Linked DNA regions of Homo sapiens: all the other regions are linked to region 5. Evidence: promoter capture Hi-C in human tissues and cell types (Jung and others, 2019). All regions are on one chromosome and are shown on one strand. The core of a region is centred on a gene start or on the middle of the fragment in contact, and the rest is flanking DNA. Distances in the headings are between cores, read along the strand shown.

Evidence for each region. Contacts are between HindIII fragments. The study calls those that stand out against the background at their distance.
Region 1: a contact is called between a fragment that was not itself captured here and the fragment with the promoter of PPIL2 in region 5, in 1 of the 25 tissues and cell types used here (dorsolateral prefrontal cortex).
Region 2: a contact is called between a fragment that was not itself captured here and the fragment with the promoter of PPIL2 in region 5, in 1 of the 25 tissues and cell types used here (dorsolateral prefrontal cortex).
Region 3: a contact is called between the fragment with the promoter of AIFM3 here and the fragment with the promoter of PPIL2 in region 5, in 5 of the 25 tissues and cell types used here (adrenal gland, dorsolateral prefrontal cortex, heart right ventricle and 2 more).
Region 4: a fragment that was not itself captured here is called in contact with the fragment with the promoter of PPIL2 in region 5 in 1 of the 25 tissues and cell types used here (lymphoblastoid cells).
Region 6: the fragment with the promoter of THAP7 here is called in contact with the fragment with the promoter of PPIL2 in region 5 in 2 of the 25 tissues and cell types used here (dorsolateral prefrontal cortex and spleen).

What each region holds. Positions count from the first base shown.
Region 1 is chr22:20,923,055-20,927,995 of GRCh38, forward strand. The region is part of intron 1 of CRKL (CRK like proto-oncogene, adaptor protein); the gene reads left to right. Among named protein-coding and RNA genes, the nearest start is that of CRKL, 8.1 kb to the left of the region's middle. RefSeq lists an enhancer at 1,577-2,224. The HindIII fragment of the contact is 3,637 bases long and covers 750-4,386 here.
Region 2 is chr22:20,846,796-20,851,487 of GRCh38, forward strand. All of the region lies in intron 1 of PI4KA (phosphatidylinositol 4-kinase alpha), which reads right to left. Among named protein-coding and RNA genes, the nearest start is that of PI4KA, 9.7 kb to the right of the region's middle. The HindIII fragment of the contact is 9,318 bases long and covers 1-4,692 here.
Region 3 is chr22:20,964,623-20,968,968 of GRCh38, forward strand. It overlaps AIFM3 (AIF family member 3), which reads left to right and starts at 2,633. Exons shown (of 21, transcript NM_001386814.1): 1 at 2,633-2,681; 2 at 3,183-3,353. The coding sequence starts at 3,323. It overlaps LINC01637 (long intergenic non-protein coding RNA 1637), which reads left to right. Exons shown (of 2, transcript NR_110537.1): 2 at 1-58. The HindIII fragment of the contact is 23,315 bases long and covers 1-4,346 here.
Region 4 is chr22:21,095,353-21,099,643 of GRCh38, forward strand. No RefSeq gene overlaps it. Among named protein-coding and RNA genes, the nearest start is that of LRRC74B, 52 kb to the left of the region's middle. The HindIII fragment of the contact is 6,514 bases long and covers 1-4,291 here.
Region 5 is chr22:21,663,349-21,667,679 of GRCh38, forward strand. It overlaps PPIL2 (peptidylprolyl isomerase like 2), which reads left to right and starts at 2,664. Exons shown (of 20, transcript NM_014337.4): 1 at 2,664-2,783. The coding sequence starts at 2,752. RefSeq lists enhancers at 2,596-3,506, 2,741-2,980, 3,051-3,100. The HindIII fragment of the contact is 22,549 bases long and covers 1-4,331 here.
Region 6 is chr22:20,999,677-21,004,539 of GRCh38, forward strand. THAP7 (THAP domain containing 7) reads right to left here and starts at 2,442. Exons shown (of 4, transcript NM_030573.3): 1 at 2,156-2,442; 2 at 1,580-1,735; 3 at 971-1,111; 4 at 1-756. The coding sequence starts at 2,235. The coding sequence ends at 204. It overlaps THAP7-AS1 (THAP7 antisense RNA 1), which reads left to right and starts at 2,246. Exons shown (of 2, transcript NR_027051.1): 1 at 2,246-3,153. RefSeq lists enhancers at 1-43, 1,296-1,505 and silencers at 2,106-2,275, 2,296-2,405, 3,047-3,437. The HindIII fragment of the contact is 9,660 bases long and covers 1-2,849 here.

The DNA of each region.
Region 1 (4,941 bases), core at 1,318-3,817, 740 kb before region 5:
CATTTTCCATTTCTAGCTTGTGTCGATAGATAAATTCAGGCTATGAAGAAAAATTAGAATAAATAAAATTTTACCATTAAAAACTAAAGGAAGTTGGCCCTTCAAGAAAATAATGTACTGTACTCAGCAGACTTTGAGCATTACATGTACCTGGTAATATGGAACCAACATTGAATCAGACAGCCCTATCATGCTTCTGAGGAGCTTACTGGTTACTAAAAAAAAAATTTTTTTTTTTTTGAGACGGAGTCTTGTTCTGTCGCCCAGGCTGGAGTGCAGTGGCGGGATCTTGGCTCACTGCAAGCTCCGCCTCCTGGGTTCACGCCATTCTCCTGCCTCAGCCTCTTGAGTTAGCTGGGACTACAGGTGCCCGCCACCATGCCCGGGTAACTTTTTGTATTTTTAGTAGAGACGGGGTTTCACCGTGTTAGCCAGGATGGTCTCGATCTCCTGACCTCGTGAACCGCCCGCCTGGGCCTCCCAAAGTGCTGGGATTACAGTTATGAGCCACCGCGCCTGGCATTTTTTTTTTTTTTTTTGAGACAGAGTCTTGCTCTGTTGCCAGGCTGGAGTGTGGTGGTGCAATCTTGGCTCACTGCAACCTCCACCTCCTAGGTTCAAGTGATTCTCCTGCCTCAGCCTCCCAAGTAGCTGGGACTACAGGCGCACGCGCTACCACACCTGGCTAATTTGTGTATTTTTAGTAGAGATGGGGTTTCACCATGTTGAGCAGGATGGTTTTCTGTCTCTTGACCTCAGGGGATCTGCTCGCCTCGGCCTCCCAAAGTGCTGGGATTACAGGCGTAAGTCACCGCGCCTGGCTACTAAAAAAAAAAAAAATGTAAAGGTTGGCTGTGCTCGGTGGCTCGTGCCTGTAATCCCAGCACTTCGGGAGGTTAAGGCAGGAGGATCGCTAGATCCCAGGAGTTTGAGACCAGCCCTGGCAAGATAGTGAGACCCCATTCCCACAAAAAATTAAAAAATTAGCTGAGCATGGTGTCATGCGCCTTTAAGTCCCAGCTACTTGGGAGGCTGAAGTGGAAAGATTGCTTGAGCATGGGAGGTCGAGGCTACAGTGAGCTATGATCATGCCACTGCACTTCAGCCTGGGCAACAGAGCCAGACCTTGTCTCAAAAAATGAATGAATGAATGAATGTAAGTTGTATATATTTAATATATTTAATCTCCATGCATGGTGAAACAGCTGTGGGAGAACTGAGAAAGGGTGCTTAGTCTAACCTGAGAGCCCAGAAGAGGAGCCTCACACACCTGTGAAGTAGAAGCCAATCCCTGAAGGGACAGGAGGAAACAAGAAGCATGGTTGTGCCTCCTCTTTACATCCCCTGTTCTAATTATTTAAGAACTCAAATCTAGACTTCCATAATTTGGAATGGGGAAAGGATTGCCAGTAATTTTAATCAGCATAGAATTCAACTCTGTGAATAAACCCCTTTGCGTTTCTCCTGACCAGTAGTTAAAATCATGTGAATTTGATTCAGAGAAAAATACAAGAACATGGCCAGGTGCAGTGGCTCACGCCTGTAATCCCAGCACTTTGGGAGGCCAAGGTGGGTGGATTGCCTGAGTGCAGGAGTTTGAGACCAGCCTGGGCAACACGGTGAAACCCTGTCTCTACTAAAATACAAAAAATTAGCTGGGCATGGCGGCGTGTGCCTAAGAGGCTAAAGGCAGGAGAATCACTTGAACCTGGGGGGTGGAAGTTAAAGTGAGTCGAGGTCGTGCAGCTGGACTCCATCCTGGGCGACAGAGTGAGACTCTCTCCAAAAAAACAAAAAACAAGAACACTGTCATGCTGAGAATGGAATCTTGTCCAATTAAGAGTTGTGTTCCCAGCCGGATGTGGTGGCTCACGCCTGTAATCCCAGCACTGTGGGAGGCTTAGGCGGGCGGATCATGAGGTCAGGAGATCAAGACCATCCTGGCCAACATAGTGAAACCCCGTCTCTACTAAAAATACAAAAACTAGCTGGGCGTGGTGGCATGCATCTGTAGTCCCAGCTACTCCGGAGGTTGAGACAGGAGAATCGCTTGAACCTGGGAGGCAGAGGTTGCACTGAGCCAAGATCACACCACTGCACTCCAGCCTGCCAACAGAGCGAGACTCCGTCTCAAAAAAAAAAAAAAAAAAAGAGTTGTGTTCCCATGGAAAGTACTAGTAGCCATTCGATTTGTGACTTTTAAAACTCAAATCCACAGAATTGTGACCTAAATTTTTCCTTTTGATCTGAATGATTAGACTAGATTTCTGAGGGTCTTTAAGATTAAAATATTTTAATTCTGGGCCGGGCGTGGTGGCTCACGACTGTAATCCCAGCACTTTGGGAGGTCTGGCAGGTCGGGAGTTCGAGACTGAACCTGGGAGGCAGAGATGACAGTGAGCCGAGATTGCGCCAGCGCCACTGCACTCCAGTCTGGTCAACAGAGCGAGACTTCGTCTCGGAAAACAAAAAACAAACAAACAAAAAACATTATTTTAATTCTTTCAGATAAGTAAAAGGGGGCACAGCCTATTAGTTGGGAGTTCAGATTAACTTGAGTTGAATCTGAGCTAAAATCATAACAAGTTGGGTGGGGCCACCAGGCACATAGCAACTCACCTGGAATGAACGTGACAAGAACAGTGGAAGAGGATGAGAAGAGGCTTTGAAGGTGCACACTCAACGGTATTCGAATTCTGTCACACCAGTTTTGTGACAGTATTAAACCAGAGTTAGGTAATTTGAATACCTGAGCTTTTGTGCTTTCAGAAACAAAAAAGGAGGGAAATAGGAAAGGGAAGTTCTTTGATATATAGAGGCCTACAATATACCAAAGCTCACTGCTAGACTCTTGGAATCTAATGGAAGTAAACCATGTTTTTGTTTTTGATTTTTGTCTTTGAGAAGCTTTGGTCTATTGAAAAAATTAGAATGCCATGACAGCTTAAAAGCAAAGGCAATCAACTGTACCTAAGAGGTGGGGAGAGGCTTGAAAGAGGAGATGCTCTTCAACTGATTCTTTAAGGATGAGAACAAGTATACGAGGTAGAAGAGGTGGTGGTAGAAGAGATGGTGGCAGTGCTTGCTGGTAAAGACACAGTTATAATTAATGTAGATGATGGGCAGGAACCTAGGAAGGAAAGATAAAGCCAACTTGTAAAGGGCCTCCTCAGCCTTGTAAATGAGCTTAACAATGGGAGCCATCTAAAGTTTTTAAAAAGAGAACTGTCAGATTTTAAAAGGAGAACTGATGAGTTTTACTTTTGAGAAACTGCTCTGGGTGGGGAAAGATCTGAAGGACTAATTCTCTGTTACTGGAGAGGGACCCTGAGAAGCTGAGCCAAGATCAAATGCCATAGGAATGTAAAGTGGCACATAGAAGGTGAGGGGAGAGGTATGATGACTTCAGAGAGGATTGAGTGGTGCCTTTGAGACAAGAGAAAGGGATTAGGGTGGGTGCGTGATTCTTTTCAACAGGAAGAATCTTTCTTTGAGGTACCTGCTGGAAGCCAGGTGGTATTTAGCAATCTGATGGGTTTGTTATTGAGAAGAGAGGTAAGGGCTGAATACATATAGATTTGGGAATCGCAGCTTAGATGGGATCACCCAGAATGAGGAGGCAGAACAGGAATAAGTAGAGAAAGAGAAGCTGCGGAAGGAGAGGCAGCCACAAGCATAGGAGGAGGAGCCATTAGTGATGGCCTGAAAGCCCAGGGACAGAAGGGAGGGGACCTGGGCATTAAATGCTGGTCAGTGATAAAGAATGGTGGTTACTGGCTGGACATGGTGGCTCACGCCTGTAATCCTAGCACCTTGGGAGGCGGAGGCAGGTGGATTGCCTGAGCTCATGCGTTCGAGACCAGCCTGGCCAACACAGTGAAACCCTGTCTCTACTAAAATATAAAAAATTAGCCAGGCATGGTGGCGTGCGCCTATAGTCCCAGCTACTCGGGAGGCTGAGGCAGGAGAATGGCTTGAACCTGGGAGGCAGAGATTGCAGTGAGCCAAGATCGCACCACTGCACTCCAGCTTGGGTGACAGAGCAAGACTCCGTCTCAAAAAAAAAAAAAAAAAAAAAAAAAGAATGGTGGTTAAAGCAGTTTCACTAGAGAAGTACTTAGCTCATCTTGGAATTGAATTTTTTTTTTTTTTTTTTGAGACAGTGTCGCTCTGTCGCCCAGGCTGAAGTGCAGTGGCATGATCTCGGTTCACTGCAGTCTCCACCTCCCGGGTTCAAGTGATTCTCCTGCCTCAGTCTCCTGAGTAGCTGCGATTACAGGCGCCCACCACCATGCCCGGCTAATTTTTGTATTTTTAGTAGAGATGGGGTTTCACCATATTGGACCAGGCTGGTCTCAAACTCCTGACCTCAGGTGATCCAATTGCCTCGGCCCCCTAATGTGCTGGGATTACAGGCATGAGCCAGTCACCACGCCCAGCTGGAATTAAGTTTTCTACCTTTTTTTTTTTTTTTTTAACTGTGAAATATTTCATACATAGAAAAGAGTAAGGGTGCCGTGGCTCACGCCTGTAATCTCAGCACATTGGGAAGCCAAGACAGGTGGATCACTTGAGGTCAGGAGTTCGAGACCAGCCTGGCCAACGTGGTGAAACCCTGTCTCTACTAAAAAGACAAAAATTAGCCGGGCGTGGTGGTAGATGCCTGTAATCCCAGCTACTTGGGACGCTGAGGCAGGATAATTGTTTGAACCCGGGAGGTGGAGGTTGCAATGAGTTGAGATCGCACCATTGCACTCCAGTCTGGGTAACAGAGCAAGACTCTGTCTCAAAAAAAAAAAAAAAAAAAAAAAAGGAAAAAGAGTAAGCCTGGGCACGTTGGCTCATGTCTGTAATCCCAGCACTTTGGGAGGCCGAGGGAGGCAGATCACTTGAGGTCAGGAGTTTAAGACCAGCCTGGCCAGCATGTGAAACCCATCTCTG
Region 2 (4,692 bases), core at 1,812-4,311, 820 kb before region 5:
TCACCACAGTGCATTCCAGCATGGGCAATAGTGCAGGCTCAAAAAAAAAAAAAAAAAAAAAAGGGTGGGGGGCCAGGTGCGGTGGCTCATGCCTGTAATCCCAGCACTTTGGGAAGCCGAAGTGGGTGGATCATGAGATCAGGAGTTCGAGACCAGCCTGACCAACATGATGAAACCCCGTCTCTACTAAAAATACAAAAAAATTAGCTGGGTGTGGTGCAACGCGCCTGTAATCCCAGCCACTCAGAAGGCTGAGGCAGGAGAATCACTTGAACCGAGGAGGTGGAGGTTGCAGTGAGCCGAGATCACGCCACTGCACTCCAGACTGGGCAACAGAGCAAGACTCCATCTCAAAAAAAAAAAAAAAAAGTAATAGCTAATGGATGCTGGGCTTAATACACAGGTGATGAGAAGATCTGTGCAGCAAACCACCATGGCACACATTTAACAAACCTGCACATCCTGCACATGAACCTAAAATAAAAGTTGAAGAAAAATGAATAAATAAAAATGTAAAAAGAAAAACAACTGTAATAATCCCAGCACTTTGGGAGGCCAAGGCAGGAGGATTGCTTGAACCCAGGAGTTTGAGACCAGTCTGGGCAACATAGTGAGTCTCTAAAAAAAATTTTAGAAATTAACCAGGAGGCTGGGTGCAGTGGCTCACGCCTGTAATCTCAACACTTTGGGAGGCTGAGGCGGGTGGATCTCTTGAGCCCAGGAATTCAAGACCAGCCTGGGGTACATGGTGAAACCCAAGACCAACCTGGAGTACATGGTGAAACCCAGTTTCTACAAAAACTAGCCAGGCCATGGTGGCTTGTGCCTGTAGTCCCAGCTACTTCAGAGACTGAGGTGGGAGGACTGCTTAAGCCTGGGAGGTCCAGGCTATAGTAAGCTGTGATAATACCACTGCATACCACTGCTCTCCAGCCTGAGTGATAGTGAGACCCTGTTTCAAAAAAAAAAACAAAAAAAACCAGTAGAACAATTTCATTTAAAATAGCATCAAAAAGAAAAAGTACTTATGAATAAAAACAAAAGAAGTGCAAAACTAAGAAACATTACAACATTGCTAAAAGTAAAGAAAACCTAAATAAATGGAAAGACATCCCATGTTCATAGATCAAAACAGTTACTATTGTTTAGATGGCAATACAGGCCGAGCACAGTGGCTCACGCCTATAATCCCAGAACTTTGAGGGGCCAGGGTGGGTGGATCACCTGAGGTCAAGAGTTCGAGACCAGCCTGGCCAACATGGCAAAACCCTGTCTCTGCTAAAAATACAAAAATTAGCCGGGCATGGTTGTGCACACCTGTAGTCCCAGCTACCTGGGAGGCAGAGGCAGGAGAATTGCTTGAACCCAGGAGGCGGAGGTTGCAGTGAGCTGAGATTGTGCCACTGCACTCCAGCCTGGGTGACAGAGCGAGACTCCATCTCAAAAAAAAAAAAAAAAAAAAAAAGGGACAATATAGCAATACAGTCCAAACTAACCTACAAATTCAACACCATCCCTGTCAAAACCCTAGGTGAGTTCTTTGCAGAAACTAACATGCTAACCCTAAAATTTCCATGGTAATTCAAGGGACCCAGAATAACAAAAACAATCTTGAAAAGGAAGGACAAAATTGGAGGACTCATTCTTCCCAATTTCAAAACTTACTACAAAGCTAAAGTAATCAAGACAGTATACTAGCCAACATCAGGAAAGACATACAGACCAAATAAACCCTCACACTTACAGTCAACTGATTTTTGACAAGGGTTCCAGGACCCCTCAATGGAAAAAAGAATAGTCTTTCCAAGAAATCGTGCTGAGACAACTGGATATTCACATGCAAAAGAATGAAACTGGACCCCCATCTCATATCACATAAAATCTTAACTCAAAATGGATCAAAAACTCAAATGTAAGAGCTAAACTATAAAACTGCTAACAAAAAACACAGGTGTAAGTCTTTGTGACCTTGAAATTAGACAGTGGTTTCTTAGATACAACACAAAAAGCACAAGGGACAAAAGAAAAAAAAAATGACAAAATGGACATCATCAAAATTTAAAACTTTTGTACTTCAAAGAACACCATGAAGAAAGTGAAAAAGCCCACAGAATGGGAGAAAATATTTGCAAATCATATATCTTATTAAGAAACTTTTATCTAAAATAAAGAACTATTACAACTTAATTAAAAAAATACTACAATTTAAAATTGGGCAAAGAATCTGAATAGATATATCTCCAAAGAAGATCTACAAATACCCCAAAAGAGTGGCTGTTCTAGGATAGAATAGGCTGGCTCAACATCATTAACCATCAGGCAAATGCATATCAACAACAGAATAATAAGATCCCACTTCACATCCACTAGGATGGCTATAACTGGAAAGACAGACAATACAGAGTGTTGGTGACAATGTAAAGAAAACAAGCCCTCTGTACACCGTTGGTGGGAATGTAAATGGTGTAGTAACTTTGGAAAACAGTCTGGAGTTCCTCTAAAGGTTAAACCTAGAGTTATTGTATGGCCCAGCAATTCCACATCTAGTTAAAGACCCAAGAGAAATGAAAATATGTCTACAGAAACACTTGTACGTGAATTTCCATAGCAGCGTTATTTATAATAGTCAAAATGTAGAAACAATCCAAACATCCACCTACTAATGAATGGATAAAATATGGTATATGCATACAAATATTATTTAGTAATAAAAATGAAGTAATGAGATGCTACAACATGGATGAACCTTGAAAATACGCCAAGTAAAAACCATCATGGCAGGTGCAGTGGCTCACACCTGTAATCCCAGCACTTTGGGAGGCCGAGGCAGGTGGATCACAACAAGGTCAGGAGATCAAGACCATCCGGCTAACACGATGAAACCCTGCCTCTACTAAAAATACAAAAAATTAGCCGGGCGCAGTGGCGGGCGCCTGTAGTCCCAGCTACTCGGGAGTCTGAGGCAGAAGAATGGTGTGAACCTGGGAGGCAGAGCTTGCAGTGAGCCGAGATCGCGCCACTGCACTCTAGCCTGGGCTCCAGAGCGAAACTCTGTCTCAAAAAAAAATAAAAATAAAAATAAGCCACCACAAAAAACCACATCTTATAGAATTCTATTTCTACAAAATGTTCAGAATAAATCTACAGAGACAGAAAGTAAACTAGTGGTTGTCTAGGGATGGGGCTGGTAGGGCTGCAGGGTAACAGCAAGGTTTCTTTTGAGGGCAATGAAAATGACCTAAAATTGATCATGGTGATGGATGGACAACTCTGTGAATACACTAAATATGATGAACTGTACATTTTAAATGGGTAAATTTTGTGGTATGTGAATTATATCTCAAGAAAGCACTATTGAAAAACCTAGCCTATGAAGGATCAAATCAAACCACAAGCAACTGCCGACCAGAACAAAGCCCAACATTCCCTAAAGTAACACAACAAAAATCTAAACACTCAAGCCAGGCACGGTGGCTCGCCTGTTAACACCAGCACTTTGGGAGGCCAAGGCAGGTGGATCACTTGAGGCCAGGAGTTCAAGACTAGCCTGGAACCCCGTCTCTACTAAAATACAAAAAATTAGCTGACTGTGGTGGCGCATGCTAAAGGAGTCCCCATAGGTCTCTGGGACTATAAATACTCATTTAAAAAAAAATTTTTTTTTTTGAGACGGTGTCTTGCTCTGTCACCCAGGCTGGAGTGCAGTGGCGTGATCTCAGCTCACTGCAAGCTCCGCCTCCCAGGTTCATGCCATTCTCCTGCCTCAGCCTCCCCAGTAGCTGGGACTACAGGCCACCACGCCCAGCTAATTTTTTGTATTTTTAGTAGAGACGGGGTTTCACCGTGTTAGCCAGGATGGTCTGGATTTCCTGACCTCGTGATCCGCCCGCCTCGGCCTCCCAAAGTGCTGGGATTACAGGTGTGAGCCACCGCGCCCGGCCTACTAAAATTTTTTAAAATTTTCGCTGGGTACAGTGACTCAAGCCTATAATCTCAGCACTTTGAGAGGCTGAGGTGAGTGGATCACTTGAGCCCACGGTTTGAGCTAAGCCTGGGCAAGATAGTAAGACCCCATCTCTAAAAAAATTTTTCTTTTTTTACTTAGCCAGGTACAATGTGCGTGCCTGTAGTCCCAACTACTTGGGAGGCTGAGGCAGGAGGATCCCTCAAACCAAGGAATTCAAGGTGGTAGTAAGTTATGATCATGCCACTGCACTCCAGCCTGAGTGAAAAAGCAAAACTGTCTCCAAAAAAATGTAATTTCTATTTTTAAAAATGTCTAGGCCAGGCACAGTGGCTCATGCCTATAATCCCAGCACTTTGCGAGGCCGAAGTGGGCAGACGGCTTGAGCCCTGGAATTTGAGACCAGCTTGGGCAACACAGTGAGACCCTATCTATTTTTTTTTTAATGTCTATTTATCCACCCCTCTAATACCAGGGCCTAGCACAGTGCCTGCAACACAGCAAACCCCCAAAGATTTATCATATGAACGGATGGTGCCATCTTTTGCTTTCATAATAGTATAGCCTTGGGTTTTTTTTGTTGTTGTTGTTGTTTTTTGTGTGACGGAGTCTTGCTCTGTCGCCCAGGCTGGAGTGCCGTGGTGCAATCTCAGCTCACCACACCACCTCCCGGGTTCAAGCAATTCTCCTGTCTTAGCCTCCCAAGTAGCTGGGCTTACAGGCGCACA
Region 3 (4,346 bases), core at 1,383-3,882, 700 kb before region 5:
GAGTTCTGGTAAATGACAGGTGAGAAAAAGAAAATGTAATAAAATATAATTGAAAACAGACCCTGGTATGTGTGGAGAGAGGGCCGGGAGGAACCTAGGACACCGGGGAACCTGAACTCCCCCAACCAGTGAAGGGAGCTGTGGGCAGCAAGGTTTGATTGGGGTTTTCTTTCTTGTGGAGGTTTCTCAGAGTGATTCAAGTTCCCCCACCCCGCCCACAGATGGTTCTGAGACTTTGGAAAGAAAGAAAAGGAAAAAAGACCCTGCCCGCGCCCCAGCTGGGCATCCCTGGGAGGTCGCGAGGATCCCCGGAGACCCAGACTCGGGCCCGGGGCGCCCCCGGCCAGAGCGGCCCCTGGCTGCCTCCCTACGCCCCGCGACTCCGGTCCGGACGCCGAGGGCCTCGGCCTGCCCCTGTCCCCCGGCCGCCCCCCACCTGCTCCGGCCCGGCGGGGCGGTGCTGGGCCCGCGGGCTCCCCGGCCGCAGTGCAAACGCAGCGCCAGACACGCCCCGCCCGCGCCTCCCCGCCCCCCCGCGCCCGCGGCCCCAAGCGGTTCCCGAGCCCAGGCCCGCGCCGAGCCCAGGTGAGCGCCCGCCCCGGGGACCCTGGTCCCCGGAACCCCGGTCCCCGCCCGCCGCCCCGCCTCTTCGCCCCGGCGCCGGGGGCCAGCGCTTGCGCTCCCAAGTCTCGGACCCCGGCCCGGCACGTTAGGGGCTGGGGGTTGGCAAGCGGGGCCAGAGGCACTGGCCGGGGTCCGAAGCTCACCTCGTCCTTCTCTCGTCCCACAACGGCCCCTTCCCGGCTCGCCGCGGGGCCCCACTGTGTGCCAGTCCCCCTTCTCGGGCTGCAAGGTCTGGCGGGGGCAACGGGACGGAGCCGGCGAGGCTGCTGGCATCGGCTTCCCAGAGAGAGGGAACTGCACGTGCAGAGGCGGGGAGAGTGGACAGAGGCTTGCCCTGAGCTCCGTGGGGGAGGGGAGAGCGCGGAGCCCCCACACTCGAAGGCAGGACTGGGATCAGATGCCACCCCTAGGACGCCTGGAAGCCACTGGGAGTCCGATCTGGGCAGGAGCCCTTGGGATGAGGCAGTGGGGGCAGGTGGCGAGAGGTGGAGGAGTGGGGAGAGGACCCTGCCCAGCCTGCACCCTGGGGGCGCCAGGAGCCCTGGGAGGGTCAGGTGGAGCAGGGGCCGCTCTGTGAGATGGGAGTAATCCAGTCCCGCCTCACAGGTCCTGGGGTCCCTGGGACAGACACAGACTCCTGCTGGGTGGTTAGCACTGGGCTCTGCTAGAACTTTTCTGCAGTGGGCAGCTCATGGGCAAGGAATAGCACTCGGGCGCTCTGCACTCTGGGGGTCCCTCCTGCCCTGCCCCTGGCAAGGACCTTTGCCTTTGAGTGGGGTGACTGGGCTCCAAGCCGATCTAGCACACAGTAGGCCGAAGGCACAGGGGCCCCACCCAGTCTCCTTCCTGGCCCAGGCCCTGGGGGATTCAGGTCCCTGGGTACTCGGGAAGGGACAGCACAGCCTGGGCAGGTCCCCAGTGGCAAGACCAGGTCTGACCTTTTCTGGGATCTGTGGCCCATCAGGTGAGGCCTGAGGTCAGCCAGGAAGGAAGCGGGCAGGGCTGAACCAGGGCTGAAACCAGGACCCAGGAAGGGACAGCCTAGTGCCCAGGGAAGGGGCAGGTGGGGCAGGTGGCAGTTGAGTTTTACAGACCTTCTTTGATGACAAGTGGGGGAAAGAGCCAAGGCACGCCCCAGTGGCTGTGGGAGCCACCGCCTCCTCCCCTGTAATGGGCACCTCGAGGACCGACAGGCGCAGGGGCCAGGCACCAAGGGTCCCTCTCCAACCTGGCCTTTTGTTTCCACCCCTTGCTCTCAGGCACCCACCCACGGCCCTTCCTGGTATCTGGACCAGACCAGGTGGGTCTCAGCCCCACCTCAAGTGAGACTTCAGGAAGAACTTCCAGAGGAAACTGGAGGATGGCAGTGGGATGGACTGTGGGGAGGTCATTTGCAAACAAGGCAGCTTATGCCTGTGCCCTGGGCCTTCCAAAGTCCACCTGTAGGCTGCATCTTCCGGAAGGCCCACCCTGTAGCCTGGAAGGCACCTGGCTACAGTGATCTCTCTGCTGTGCAGGTGTCCCCTCCCCCAGGGCACCTTGCAGGGCCTTAGGGTGATATGGGGGCTTTCTGGGCCCCTGCCCACCTTAAAACTGATCAAGGTGGGAGGGTGGGGTGGGAGGCCACAGGGATGCCCCTGCTGCTTGACCTTGATGGGACCTTGACCCCTTGCTTTCCCCATATGCTGTTGGGCATGACTGCCCACAGGCCTGGTGGGCGTTTGTGAAGGGCTGGAGTCGGGGGTAGGGGGAGCTTATGGCTGCTGGGCACAGGCGTGGCAGGGCTGTGTGCCTGGCTTCCCTTTCCCCTAACCCCATCAGGCCCGGGCTGGCCGCCCACTTCTGTTCACCACAGAGCAGGGTTTCCCTGGGGACCAGTGGACTGGCCCAGCCCCACACCGCCCCCCAGCCCCTCCTGGCCACAGCTTGAGCTGGGAGGAGGGTGGAGGCTGGGCCGCCTCCTGGACCCCTGCCCTCCCTGCCCGGCCTTCCAAGGCCCGGCAGCCTCAGTCCACTGCTGGGCCTGGAACACGGAGCAGTGGCTGCCCTGCGAGGAGGTGGGTGTCCGGAGTGCTAGCCAGGGTGGGGCTGGGCTAGGGGGAGCCTGATGTCACCCCCATTGTAGGAGGGAGAAGACCAAGGATGAGAAGGGCTTTGGCTTCCCCAAGGTGACCCCCTCTTTGAGCCTAGGCATAGTGGTCTCCCGGGAGAATGGAGGGTCCCAGAGCTCTCAGGCTGTGGGATTTGGAGAGGGGAAGGGGGGCACGAGGAGGCAGTAGAAATCAGGGAGGATTTCCTGGGCAAGGCAGCCGCGGGGCTGGACGATGGGCGGCCGAGGTTCGGGCAGAGGAACTCCACTGGAGGAGTGAGGGAGCTGAGCTTGGAGGGCTTCAAAGGGGAGGTGACCTCCAGGGCCCCACGCTCTGGGATCAGGCTCACGCCATGGTTCCCAGCTCAAATGTAAGACTCTTTCCGAAGCTCCCACTGTCTCTCTCCGTCCCTCTGTGTCTCTACCTGCCCACACGCCCCGGTCCTGATGGCTCCAGTCTCCCCTGCAGGTCCTAGAGCAGCTCCAGCAGGATGGCGGCTCCAGCGTCTCTAAGGCCTGCAGGGGGTCCAGCCCCATGGGGGGCGCCCTAGGCCTCCGACAGCTCCCCATCTGTGCTCCTGCCTGCCGGCCATCCTCAGGCCACTCGCCATGGGCGGCTGCTTCTCCAAACCCAAACCAGGTACCTCCTGTCTTCTTGTCTCCATCCTTTCTCCTCCCTCCCCGCCTCCTCCTCCCCCGTCTCCCCCCCCTCCCCCTCTGCACTCGGTAGGCCTCCGAAGTAGGTCAGGCTATCCAAGAACCCGCTCGGAATGTTAATACGCTGCCGCCAGGAGGGGGTAGGGGGCCTGGAGCAGTTCCCCCAGCTGGCCCCTGCTCCAGTGGGTGCCCCTTTTTCTTTGGGGCTTTGAGTGTTGGTGGTGGGAATAACAGCAGGACCCTTCTTGGAAAAGGAAAGTCAGGGTTCCTCCTGTTGCAGGGTTGGGGAAGGGGCTATGCCCCCAGGGCCAGGGAAGGGGGGAGCTGGGGACACGCTCAGCCACTCTGTGACCTAGGGCATGCAAGTTACCCCTCTGAGCCTCTGTTTTTCTCTCTGCAAAAGAGAGGGCCTGGCCACCCTGACCTCTTAGAGTTGCTGTGAGGGTGTAGTGGGCAGATCCTGGCTCTCTTTGCCTCCTCTGATCCCCTGTGTGGTCTCGGGCTGCCTTCTTGGCCTTTCTGGGCACACTTCCCCATTTATACAGGAAATCACCATCCAACCTAGCCTGAGCTACTCCAGCCAGAAGTGGGAGTGTCCTGGGGTGCTAGGGGAGGCCTGGGTCTTTTCTCCACTAAAGACTCATGTCTGCGGAGCTCTCCCTCTGGCCCCCCACTTTCCCTCTTCTCTCCTCACAACACCTGGGGAGGCAGGAGTGTGCAGCTTTGTCACAGGTGGAGAAACTGAGGCTTAGAGAGACCTCAAGAGCGCAGCCAGTGCTCCACTCAACCTGCCAGGCCACGCTGCCCCAGCCAGCTCACCCCAGCCAGCTCACCCCAGCCAGCTCACCCCAGCTCCCCTTACCTGATACCCATCAGCTCCGTTACCTTGGAACTTGTGAGGCTTTTCTCCCTTTCCTGGGTCTAAGGGAGAACTTGGGCGAGGGAGGAGGGCTGTGATGACCCACCAGGCAGAGGG
Region 4 (4,291 bases), core at 1,248-3,747, 570 kb before region 5:
CCATCCTTGGGAAAACCCAGAACAAAACCAGATCTTCCAACAGAGGCTCTGCAATGGAAAAATCCCAGGGGACTGAGGTGCATGATCTGCTTTGGAGCACTCAGGGATATCTGTCTCCTCACACTGGGCTGGTTGTGGTGAAGGGTGCACCGGGCTCTTTTAATGTACACATCTGGATTGAACTGAGATTCCCACAGCAGATTTCCTAATGGTGAGTGGAGGACAACAGATAAATAAATATAATTAGGAACAGTATCCAGACTGACGCATGCTGAAGAGTTTCAGCAGGTACCAACAGATATATTCAGGAGTCAGAGAAGCTTGGGAAATTCCCATAGTCATAAATTGTAATCTCCGGGTCAAGTTAGCTGACCATCAGAAATCATCCTGGCAGGTCTTTTAACACTGCAGTTTCCTGAGCCTGACTTCTGAGGATTCTGATTCCATAGGCCTGTGGTGTATTTGTCATTTTGAGAAGCCTCCAGGGGGATTCTGACAACTGGCCAAACTTAGAGAGATTCACAAGGCACATTGTCACATTAAAGGCACTGAAAAGTCCTGTAATAATGACACCCACATCATTTCACTGAACCAGTTTATCAAAGTTACTTGAACACAGATCTCTCCCTCTATATATTTTGTACACCTGTTTTTACAAGGTCTACTGCTCAGGGAGCTTGCCAAGATTTCCTCTTAATAATTCTATACTAATATCATAAATCCAGGTTTTTTTATGTCTTTCCTACCATTTTGTAGTATCCACTGGCTGTTCTCTCCTTGAAGGCAGGAATAGTGTCTGTTTTATTTGCAATATCCCTTATGCAGAGTCTGAGTAAATGAGTCTTTTAAGATAATCTCTGAACAGGGGATGTGGCCCTCTGCCTCCCCGGTTCAATGAAGTACTTTGATACCAGGGTGGAAGAGAGATTTAAAGCAGCATGTCATAGTAGGAAAGGCTGCAGAGCCACTTTTGGTTGACAGTCATGGATGATGAGTGCCAGCAGTCCAGCTCCTTCTCCTCTGAGCTGTTTCTCCACTGCTCTGAGATCAACCTCTTAACAAACTTGGTCCCCAGGTAAAAGCCCTCCTGAGACATTTGGTTAAGAAGAGGAGTTTCCCATTTCTCCCCTTCTCCTTTCAGCCACCAGGCATTGAAGGGAGCAGTGCTGAGGCCATTTAAATGGGCTTCTCCATAGAATGGGCCCTTCTGTTGGAAACTGGGTTATGCACAAACCATTCACAATGGCTTTTTACACCCCAGAAGCACTAAGATCCCCCTAATCTTCAGTCAAAACAGAGCATGAAGGGTGGGGTATTCATCCCAAAGGCACTGGGCATCTGAAAGTTAGGGAGGGGTGGGACCACCCACATTCAGGGCTTTGATTTTCCAGCCAGAATGACAAGACCACAAGACCCCCAGGAGGACTCCATCCTTCTCATTCTTTATGTGGTGGACCCTTAAAAAGTGCAAGGTGGGAGGCTGAGGCAGGCGGCTCATGAGATCAGAAGATCGAGACCATCCTGGCCAACATGGTGAAACCCCATCTCTACTAAAAACACAAAAATTAGCCGGGTGTGGTGGCACACGCCTGTAATCCCAGCTACTTGGGAGGCTGAGGCAGTAGAATGGCATGAACTTGGGAGGCAGAGATTCCAGTGAGCTGAGATCGTGCCATTGCACTCCAGCCCAAGACTCAGTCTCAAAATAAATAAATAAATAAATAAATAAATAAATAAATAAAATAAATAATAAATTAAAAGTGCAAGGCTTTTTTTTTTTTTTTTTTTTTTGTGACAGAGTTTCGCTCTTGTTGCCCAGGCTGGAGTGCAATGGTATGATCTCGGCTCACTGCAACGACTGCCTCCCTGGTTCAAGCGATTCTCCTGCCTCAGTCTCCTGAGCAGCTGAGATTACAGGCGTTCGCCACCACGTCTGGCTAATTTTGTGTTTTTAGTAGAGACGAGGTTTCACCATGTCGGCCAGGCTGGTCTTGAACTCCTGACCACTGGTGATCCGCCCACCTCGGCTTCCCAAAGTGTTGGGATTACGGGGTGAGCCACCGTGCTGGCCACAAGGCATCCTAACAAGAGTTTTGCTACCATTATCTCCCGTTACAGTTGAGGAAACTGAGGCATGCAGAGGTTAAATGAAGCACCCATCAGAGCCAAGCAGTTAGATGGCAAAGTTGTATTAGTCTGATTTAAGAAAAGTTTAATACAGGTACCATTTACAGAGGTGCAGACAGTGTATTGATTTTTTTTTCTTTTCTTTTTTTTTTTTTTTTTTTGAGACGGAGTCTCACCCTGTCGCCCAGGCTGGAGTGCTGTGGCTCGATCTCGGCTCACTGCAATCTCCAGCTCCCAGGTTCAAGCGATCCTCCTGCCTCAGCCTCCTGAGTAGCTGGGATTACAGGTGCCTGCCACCACACCTGGCTGATTTAGTAAAGATGGGGTTTCACCATGTTGGCCAGGCTGGTCTCGAACTCCTGGCCTCAGGTGATCCGCCTGCCTCGGCCTCCCAAAGTGCTGGGATTATAGGCATGAGCCACTGCGCCCGACAGTATATTGGTTTTCTATTTCTCCATAATAAATAACTACAAACTTAGTGACTTTAAACAACACCCCTCCATTAGGTCATAGTTCTGTAAGTTAACAGGCCAGGTATGGCCTGATTGTCTCCTCAGTGTGTCACAAGTTTAAAGTCAAGGTGTTGCTGAGGCTGTGATCTCATCTGAGGCTCAGGGTTCTCTTTCAGACTTTTTCCAGTTGTTGGCAGAATTCAGTTAGTTGTGGTTGTAGGACTGAAGCCCCCACTTCCTTGCTGGTTGTTGTCCAGGAACCACTTTTATCTTTTAGAGACCACACTCAAAGTCCACAGGCAATTCACAGCATGGATGTTTGCTCCTTCAAGGCCAGCAGGTGGCTGTCTCTCACTCTTCAACTCTCTTTGACTTCTAAGGGTCACCTGATTAGGCCAGGCCCACCCAGGATAATCTTCCTTTTGATTAACTCAAAGTCAACCTAATAACAGTGTGAAATGCCATCATATTTGCAAGTCCAGCCCATCCTCAAGGGGAGGGCATTATGCAGGGGGTGTTCACCAGGGGAGCAACAATCTTGGCAGCCAGTTTAGTATTCTGCAATGCAGAGACAGGAAGCAGGAAACCACCAGGAATACTGCAGCTCCCTGGGAAGAGCAGTGGCGGGACTTGATTACAAGCCCTAGTCATGAATAGATGAGGAGCTGAGAGACACAGAAGGCTGTGGGGAGAGGGCCACCAGGAAGATGCTGGGTCCTTTGGTTGAAGGACACAGCTAGTCCATAGTTACTTGGCAAGGAGGGAGCTAGAAAAATAAATAGCCTGACCTCAGTTTCCTTTCTTTTTTCTTTCTTTCCCTCCTTCTTTCTTTTTTTCTTTTTTTTTTTTTGAGACAGAGTTTTGCTCTTGTTGCCCAGGCTGGAGTGCAACGGCGTGATCTTGGCTCACTGCAACCTCCACCTCCTGGTAAAAGGGATTCTCCTGCCTCAGCCTCCCAAGTTGCTGGGATTACAGGTGCCCACCGCCATGCCTGGCTAATGTTTTGTATTTTTGGTAGAGACGGTTTTGCCATGTTGGCCAAGCTTATCTTGAACTCCTGACCTCAGGTAATCTACCCGCCTCGGCCTCCCAAAGTGCTGGGATTACAGGCATGAGCCACTGCGCCCGGCCTTCTCACTTTCTTTTTTGAGATGGAGTCTCACTCTGCCACCCAGGCTTGAGTGCAATGGCGAGGTCTCGGCTCACTGTAACCTCCACCTGGGTTCAAGCGATTCTCCTGCCTCAGCATCCTGAGTAGCTGGGACTACAGGTGTGTGCCACCACACCCAGCTAATTTTTGTAGTTTTAGTAGAGACAGGGGTTTCACTATGTTGGCCAAGCTGCTCTCGAACTCCTGACCTCATGATCCGTATGCCTCAGCCTCTCAAAGAGATGGCAAAGATCCCAAAGATTACAGGTGTGAGCCACCGTTCCCGGCCACTTTCTCACTTTCATCTTCTGTTGTTGCTCTCCTTTGGCTGATCTTAACATGAAGCTGAGTAAGGGAGCCAGCTTATTGATGCAGTCAGTAGAAGCCAGCTTCCCAGGGAGATCCAGGTTGGGGGAATATGGAGTGTGGATCAGGAGAGGTAAGGAGATGATATTTGGCAAAAGTACTTCTTAGAGTCACACATCTTGTAATGATAGACCTCAGATTCAAATTCAAGTCTGTTTAAAGTCAAATTATACCATCTATGCATCCTTCCATGCAT
Region 5 (4,331 bases), core at 1,414-3,913:
ATTTTGCTTTCTGACTGAGTCATCATGGTGCATCACCACAAATGGGTTATTTTTAATTGGTTTGTATTTATTTGTTTGCTTGCTTATTTAGAGACAGAGTTGTGCTCTGTTGCCCAGGCTGTAGTGCAGTGGCGCGATCTCAGCTTACTGCAACCTCTGCCTCCCAGGTTCAAGCGATCACCATGCCTCAGGCCTCCTGAGGAGCTGGGATCACAGGCACATGCCACCACGCCCAGCTAATTTTTGTATTTTTAGTAGAGACAGGGCTTCACCATGTTAGCCAGGCTGGTCTCGAACTCCTGACCTCAGGTGATCCAACCGCCTTAGCCTCCCAAAGTGCTGGAATTACAGGCGTGAGCCACCGCACCGACTGTCCCCTCCCCACACCCCGGCCCTTTTTTAAAGAGACAGGATCTCACTCTGTTGCCCAGGCTAGAGTGCAGTGGCTTGATCATAGTTTACTGCAGCCTCAAACTCCTGGGCCTCAAGTGATCCTTCCACTACAGCCTCCCAAGTAGCTGGAATCACAGGTGCTGCCACCATGCTGGGCCTAAGATTCCAGCCCTTAAGGAGCTACATCCCATCCACTGTATGTGTGTCATGGAGGCAGTGGTTGTGTCAGGGAGGGTGCTCAGTAAACCGGGACACAGACTGAATTACACAGGATTACAAATTGTGAGGAATTGTGACAGACTTTATGGGAGATGCATGGAAGTGGGTGGTTAGGGAAGGTCTCTCTGGGGAGGTGACACTTATGTTAAAACCTAGAGAATAAGAAGCCAGCCATGAAATAAGGCAAAGATAGCTGGCTTTCGGTGACTGGGTGGATGGTGGTACTGCTCAGCAGAGTGGGGACTGGGAGAAGAGGGAGGATTGAAAATTCTGCTTTATGGCCGGGTGCGGTGACTCATGCATGTAATCCCAGGACTTTGGGAGGGCTGAGGCGGGAGGATCACCTGAGGTCGGGAGTTCGAGACCAGCCTGACCAACATGGAGAAACCCCTTCTCTACTAAAAATACAAAATTAGCCAGGCGTGGTGGCGCATGCCTGTAATAATCCCAGCTACCTGGGAGACTGAGGCAGGAGAATCGCTTGAACCTGGGAGGCGGAGGTTGCAGTGAGCCAAGATCACACCATTGCACTCCAGCCTGGGCAACAAGAGCAAAACTCCATGTCAAAAAAAAAAAGAAAAAAAAAAAGAAAATTCTACTTTGACCAGACATGTTAATTTAATTTTTTTAGGCAGAGTCACTCTGTCACCCAGGCTGGGATGCAGTGGCCTAATCTTGGCTCACGGCAACCTCTGCCTCCCCAGTTCAAGCTACTGTCTCGGCCTCCCAAGTAGCTGGAATTACAGGTGTGTGCCACCACACCAGGCTAATTTTTTGTATTTTTAGTAGAGATGGGGTTTTGCCATGTTGGCCAGGTTAGTCTTGAACTCCTGACCTCAAGTGATCCGCCTGCCTCAGCCTCTCAAAGTGCTGGGATTGGCCGGGCGTGGTGGCTCACGCCTGTAATCCCGGAACTTTGGAAGGCCAAGGCAGGCGAATCAGGAGGTCAGGAGATCGAGACCATCCTGGCTAACATGGTGAAACCCCGTCTCTACTAAACACACACACACACACACACACACACACACACACAAAGTGCTGGGATTACAGGCGTGAGCCACCACGCCCATCCAGACATGTTACATTTCAGATCAGTGGTTACCCAAGTGGAGATCAGGAACCTGGAGTGCTGGTGACTTAGTACTGGGAGTCATGGGATACAAATGGCATTTAAAATTAGGAGCCTAGGCAAGATTACCCTGGGCCTGAGTGTAGCTAGGGGCCCAAGGTACTGATCTGACCCAAGGGAAGGGTCTGGCAGAAGAGACGGAAGGGATCAGGTAGGGCTTTGGACCTCTAGGCTTGATGGCCACCTGCTGCTGGGCCTCCGAGGGGCCTGGAGGCGGTGGGGACCGAATATGCAGAGAGAATGAGAAGTGAGCGAGTAGAACGAGAGTGGTACATGGCTTTGAAGGCATCTGCCACGGAGGCGGGAAGGGATGGGGTGGAGGCTCATGAGACTTGAAGCTCTAGGAGGACGTTGAAAAAGACCTGAGCGCTGGCCGGGCGCGAAGCCTCAGGCCTGTAATCCCAGCACTTTGGGAGGCCAAGGCGGGAGGACTGCTTGAGCTCAAGAGCTCCAGACCAGCCTGGGCAACATTGTAAGAGCCTGTCTCTACAAAAAATTAACAAATTAGCCGGGTGTGGTGGTGCGTGCCCGTAGCTACTCGGGAGGCTGAGGTGGGAGAATCGCTTGAGCCTGGGAGGTCGAGGCAGTAGTGAGCTGTGATTGTGCCACTGCACTCCAACCTGGGCGACAGAGCGAGACCCTGTCTCGAAAATAAATAAATAAGACCTGAGAACCCAGTATGGGAATGGCCCTGAGCCGTGGCTAGGGGGGTAGACAAGGCGGTCCAGACAGACCCCTCAAGAAGATGGGGCTTCGAGGCTGAGGGAGCTCGGCCCCGAAAAGACGCCTGCGGGAGATGGCACACCTAGCTAGGACCCCATACTGGGCAGGCGATCCTTCCGAGCATGAGCACCTGGCGCTAGCGAACCACAATTCCCAGCACGCCAGGCGCCCGTTTCCGGGGCGCGCCGCGGAACCCGGAAGTGGTCACGGAACTCGGCTGCGGCTCCATGGTCTGAGTTGTCAGCCGTTGTTTTTTCGTGCTCGCTAGTCGCCGCCGCCGCTCCGCCATGGGGAAGCGACAGCACCAAAAGGACAAAATGTAAGTTGAGCCGCAGTCGGGAGCGGCGCTCCACTCTGCCTCAGTGAACCGCCTGTCCCGCACTGCGCGCCGCTCGCCTTCCCTCTCAGCTACTCCCCAGAGCACAGCCCAAAGGTCACTTCCTCCCGGAAGCTGCCGCCCTGTCTCCAGTCAGGGTAATGACCCTCGGGCCGCCGCGCTCTCCCGGGGCCGCGGCTCCGATGACGTCAGCTGCGGGCTCGAGCGCAGCCCGGTTTTCCTTACTCTGGTTCTGCCCGGACCGTCCCCCGTCTGTTCGCGAGTTTCGCCCTTGAATGAGTAGTCTCTACCTCTTCCGTACTTCACGTCTCGCTGTGTTCTGGTTCATGCCTATCAGCCTGCAAACGTGCTGCAGAGCCTTCTAATTTAAAGCAAACCAGGTCGGGCGCAGTGGCTCACCTGTAATCACAGCACTTTGGGAGGCCGAGGCGGGCGGATCACCTGAGGTCAGGAGTTCAAGACCAGCCTGGCTAATACGGTGAAACCCCGTCTCTACTAAAAATACAAAAATTAGCGGGGCGTGGTGACGGGCGCCTGTAATCCTAGCTATTTGGGAGGCTGAGGCAGGGGAATCGCTTGAACCCGGGAGGCGGAGGTTGCGGTGAGCCGAGATCGTGTCACTGCACTCCAGCCTGGGCGACAGAGCGAGACGCTGTCTCAAAAATAATAAATAAAATTTAAAAATCCACCCGTGCCCCGTGCCCCACGTCCCACGTTCCCCTCCCGCTGCCGCCGTGTTGTTTCTCTTAAGAACAAGTGAGAGACTAGTGGCTTCATGCTGTTTTCTGAGTCTCTTGAAACCACTCAAGTCAGAATTTCGACCCCAGAACTGTTGGGCTTCTCAACAGTATGTCACACCGTTGACCACTCCCTCTTTCTGAAGCCCTCCTTTGGTATCTGGGATTTCACCTGCTCTTTGTTTTCTCTCGACTTCAGCGGCCTCTCTTTTCAGGTTCCCAGCGACTTCTTGTTGCTAAATATAGTATTCAATCCTCAGTCCTCATTTTTTTTTTTTTTTTTTTTTGAGACGCAGTTTCGCTCTTGTTGCCCAAGCTAGAGTGCAATGGTGAGATCTTGGCTCACCGCAACCTCCGCTTCCCGGCTTCAAGAGATTTTCCTGCCTCAGCCTCCCGAGTAGCTGGGATTACAGGCATACGCCACCATGCCCAGCTAATTTTGTATTTTTAGTAGAGAAGGGGTTTCTCCATGTTGGTCAGGCTGGTCTCGAACTCCTGACCTCAGGTGATCCACCTGCCTCGGCCTCCCAAAGTCCTGGGATTACAGGCGTGAGCCACCGCGTCTGGGCAGCCTCAGTCCTCATTTTGTTGGGCTTCTCAACAGTATGTCCCACTGTTGACCACTCCCTCCTTCTGAAGCCCTTCTTTGGTATCTGGGATTTCACATGCTCTTTGTTTTCCATCGACTTCAGCGGTCTTTCTTTTCCCAGTCTCCTTTCTGGACCCTCCTCCCTTCTCTCAGATCTCATACGTTTCTTTTCCATAAACATTCTCTGTGGGTGATATAATTTCC
Region 6 (4,863 bases), core at 1,192-3,691, 660 kb before region 5:
TGGACTGAGCCCTCTAGGAGCTGCAGCCACTGTCTGGGGCAGCAAGCTTAGTACTCAGAGGGGCTCCAGCCCCCAGCTGAGCCAGACAGCAGGCCCTCCGTCTAGAATCCGCTTTATTATGGCACCTGGTGGGTCTGGTGGGATCTGAGGGAGGAAGAGGCTGCAGTCTTGCTGGGCAGCCCCTCGGTCAGTCCAGCAGCCCCTCAGGCCATGCTGCTGCTCAGCTGCATGGCAAAGTCCTGCACATGCTCCTTCAGAGTCTGGCGGGCATCTGCCTGTGCCCGCTTCTCCCGTGCCCGCTCCTGCTGCAGCTTGGTCAGTCTCAACCGCAGCCGCTGCTCCCGCCGCTTGCAGGCCTGCAGCTGGCGCTGGGCCTTGTCAAGGGCATCAAGGGCTGCCTCGGCTCGCCGCTTCCAGAGTAAGGCGCTGCCCACCTGGTAGCTGTGTTCATTCTGGATGTAGGCTCCGGCGGGTGGGGGCAGGCGCAGCATATACGCTGAGGGGGAGACTGGCCGTGGTTCGAGAGGGGAGGGCTGCCGCTCTGGTGAAGGCTGGGCGCTGCAGCCTGCTTCATCTGCCTGGGCACCCAAGGGGCCCAGTAGGTCTGAAAAGGGGCTGCTAAGGCCAGGCTCCAGCCTCCCAGCTGGGGAGGCCGGCAAAGTGGCAGGTGCTGAGGCCTCTTCCACAGGAAAGCAGGTGACATCAGCAGGTGGAGGTGGAGAAAATGGAGTTGTGGGCCCTCGGCCCTCGGAGCAGCTGGTAAGGGGGAAGAGAGAGACTGATGGGCTAGGCTGAGGGCTTGCCAGACCCCCCTCCACCAGCCCACCTGATCCACCCTTAACACCCAAACCCGATCCACAGGTTCTGTGTAGCAAGAACCCTGTCCAGCGAGACTGCTGGCAGACACCCCTAGGGCCCAGTCCCTCAGCCTAGGGGTGGGAGTGGGGCATCCCCCACCCATATCACATACCGCTTCCTGCATCGTCTGAGCCGGCTGACTTCAGCGGGGCCAGGTGGGTAACTGTGTCCTTTGGTCTTGGTTGTCCGGCGCAACTTGGAGAAAGACTCAAATATGGTGGGGACTGCCCCCTCCTTTAGCCTGTGATATCCACTGCGGGGAAAAGCAACCCAGATGAGCTGGAGAGCAAGTGCTGCCTCCCCAGGCCAATCTGCCCCCAGCAGCAGCGCCGTGGGATGCTGGAAGGCATCGTGCAAACAATACGTCTGGGGAACGCCAAGTTACAGCTACACCAATCGCTTCCCCGCAGGACTCCTCACAGTCCAGGTGTGTGGAAAGCCTGCATAAGCCGAGCTGGGCTGACCAGCCAGAAAGAATTCTTTGATTTGTGGACTTGCTGGCAAGACTGGGGCTCTGAAAGATACTCTCTGGAAAGGCTCCTGTTTTCCCCTTGTGTCACAGGCACAGTGATCCTGGGGGTGGGTTTCACTGTGCAGAGCTGGGAACAGGAAACAGCCCCCTTGGACGCAGGCTGCTCAAGGGACTTCCATGACCTGCAGCTGTCCCAGTCCGCCGGGAGCCCCACATCCTACCCCAGCGTCGGCCGGCAGGGAGGCCCACCTGATTCCCACCAGCTCAAAGCAGTCCTCCTCAAAGTGTTTGGAGCAGAAGTAGATGTACTCGGATGCCGGGTCCCACAGGCCCTGGCCGCTGGGGTCCAGCCGCTGGCAGTTGGCCAGCCACAAGCCTCGCCTCGGGTTGTCCTTCTTGGGAAGTCTGTGGAGCCACAAACCCGTGAGCACCAGGCTGTCCACAGCCCTGGGCTCATGCTGCCCAAGCACCCCAGAGGGGAAACGCAGACCCAACACGCGCCGCCACGAGACCTCCCTGCGACCCCGCCGGGTAAGCACCACCGCCCGGGCACAGACGAGGCAACGGAGGCCTCGAGAAGAAAAGCAGTTTCCTCAGCGTCATCTGGCAGGTAACAGAGTGGGGCGGGTCCAAGCCGGCTAGACTTCCCGTCCTCCCCTTCCCGACTGCATTCAGTCCCGCCGGGACCGTTCCGCTTCACCTCCCACCCACAGGTTCAAGCCTCCTCAGTATCTGAGAAAGGCGCGAAGCCTCTACGCAGTTGCGACCCGAGGCGAGCAACAACTAGCGCATGCGCACGTGAGCCCGCGGCGCACGCGCGCTGACCTGTGGAAGGAGATGCCGCGGTTGCGCGTCTCGCGCGTGTCCCGTGTGCAGCAGCCGGCGGCGGAGCAGTGACGCGGCATCTGGGAAAGAGGCGGGAGTTAAGTCGCAAGCGGCTCTCCGGGCATCCGGAGGAGCCTCGCGCCTCCAGCCGCCGCTCCTCCCCAAGGGGCTCTGGCCTGTCGGGTCCCCCCCGGCCCGTTGTCGCCCCAACCCCGTCCCAGCCGATTCTCTTGACTTCTGTCAGCGGCACTCACGCTCTGGCCATTGCTGCGCCGCCGAAGTCTCGCGAGGGGTAGCGCGCGCCGGAAGTTGGTACCATAGAGACTGGAGAGCCGGAGGTGCCCCCGCCACCGGGGCGGGGCGGGGCGAGGTCCTAGCTAGCTGGGTTAGTAAGCGGCGCGAGCGTGCGAGTTTCTGACGCGCCCGCGTCGTCCCAGCTCCCTGGACTACCAGTATTGTCGCCCACGTGGGCTTCTCTTTCGTCCGCTCAGGCCTCACTTTTCTCCGTAAACACCCCGGCACGATGGAGCGGCCCCAGCGTTCGGGAGCGGCCCGGGAGCGGAAAGCGGCAGTGTCCTGGGAGCCTCGAAAGCCGCAGGGGCGGCAGCTCGCCTCGGAATGACCTCTGACGGAAGAAATAAAACGGGGCCTGGGACGCTTGCACGAAAGAACCCGACAAAAACCAGAGCCCGCACTCACTCTCGTACTGGGGAGGTGGACTTCAGGGAGGGTTATCTGGAGGAGGAATCTCTCAAAGTACAACACAGGAGAAAGACAGTATCGCAATACAGAAATTTTATTTTTTATTTTATTATTATTTTCCTGAGACCGGAGTCTCGCTCTGTCGCCCAGGCTGGAGTGCAGTGGCGCGATCTCGGCTCACTGCAAACTCCGCCTCCCGGGTTCACGCCATTCGGCTGCCTCACCCTCCACAGTAGCTGGGACTACAAGCGCCCGCCACCACGCCCGGCTAATTTGCAATACGGAAATTTTAATAGGTAATTAGCTCTCCTAGCGTTATGGTGGGGAATACAGAGGGATGGTTGCCTGCCGCACCCTCCCCTCACTATTCTTCGCCTTCTTCAGCCTCAGCTTCCACGGAATCCATGCCCACATCTTCATAATCCTCCAGAGCTGCCAGATCCTCGCGGGCCTCGGAGAATTCCCCCACTGCCATGCCCTCCCCCACGTACCAGTGCACTAAGGCGCACTTGGCCGAACTTATGGTCCAGGCAGGCCCAGGCCTCCGTGATGGCCGTGGTGTTGCTCAGCATGCACACCGCCCGCTGCACTTTGGCCAGGTCTCCCACAGGGACCACCGTGGGGGGCTGGTAGTTAATGCCCACCTGTCAGAGATGGGCAGCATAGAATGAAGTTTATATTGGCCTCAGAAATGGGAGCTCATTAAAAATCAGAGCTGTGGACCAGTTCCAACACTGTGTTTTAAGAATTGCTTCTATATTTTTTGGCATTATCTGTTATCTATCGACAATTAATATCCTTTGACGACTTTTTTTTTTCTTTTCTTCTCCTTCTTCCTCCTTCTCCTCCTTCTTTGTTGTTGTTGTTGAGACAGGGTCTAGCTCTGTTGCCCAGGCTGGAGTGCAGTGGTGCAATCTCGGCTCACTGCAACCTTTGTCTCCCAGGTTCAAGCAATTCTCCTACCTCAGCGTCCTGAGTAGCTGGGATTATGGGCATGTAAGATGGAGCCCGGAAGACGGAGATTTCAGTGAGCTGAGATTTCGCCACTGCACTCCAGCCTGGGCTACAGAGCGAGACTCTGTCTCAGAAAAAAAAAAAAATTATTACCCATATTACCCATACAGTAAAACACATGAAAAAGAATGAGAACCCTGTCTTGGGATATAAATACATCCAAGGTATATTGTATACTTTGTAAAAAGAAAAGTGAGTTGAAGTCTATGTATTTATGTGTAAAAAAATCCATGTAATAACATACACAGGCTAGAACCTTGGGCAGCTAGGGTAGCATCATGCCGGAGGAGGACAAACGCCTGCTGAGGTGGTGACCCTGCCTTGCCCTGCCAAGCACGTAGCAGTTAGCACCAACTAGATACAGACACACTCCACAGGAGTTGGAAGGGGCAGAGAGAAGGGTTCGTACCCTGATCAGGGAGTGTCCTCCCACAACTCTAAGGCCAAGCCTATCAGCCCTTCCAAGTGGGAGTGCTGCCAGCTTTCTGTTTACTGTGACCACCTGTGTGCAGCAATTGGGTCTGTCACCTACAGGAAAGGGACATACATATCTGCTGGCCACTGTCAACATCACCTGTATAACAAGAGATTAATATGCCTTGAATATGTACAGAATGTTTTTCAAAGGACAGAAGCAGCTCTGGGGAAGAAGAGGACTTCAGCTTTTCAGTCTTCTGCATTCTTTCAGTATTTTGCCACATATCAGGTTTTGTTTTGTTTTTGAGACAGGGTCTCACTCTGTCACCCAGCCTTGAGTGCAGTGGTGTGATCTTGGCTCACTGCAACCTCTGCCTCCTGGGTTCAAGCGATTTTCCCACTTTAAGTGATCCGCCTGCATCAGCCTCCCAAAGTATTGGGATTACAGGTGTGAGCCACCGCGCCCGGCCCATATCAAGTTTTTTTTTTTTTTTTTTTTTTTTTTTTTTTTTTTTTTTTTTTTTTGAGATGGAGTCTTGCTCTGTCATTCAGGCTGGAGTGCAGTGGCACAATCT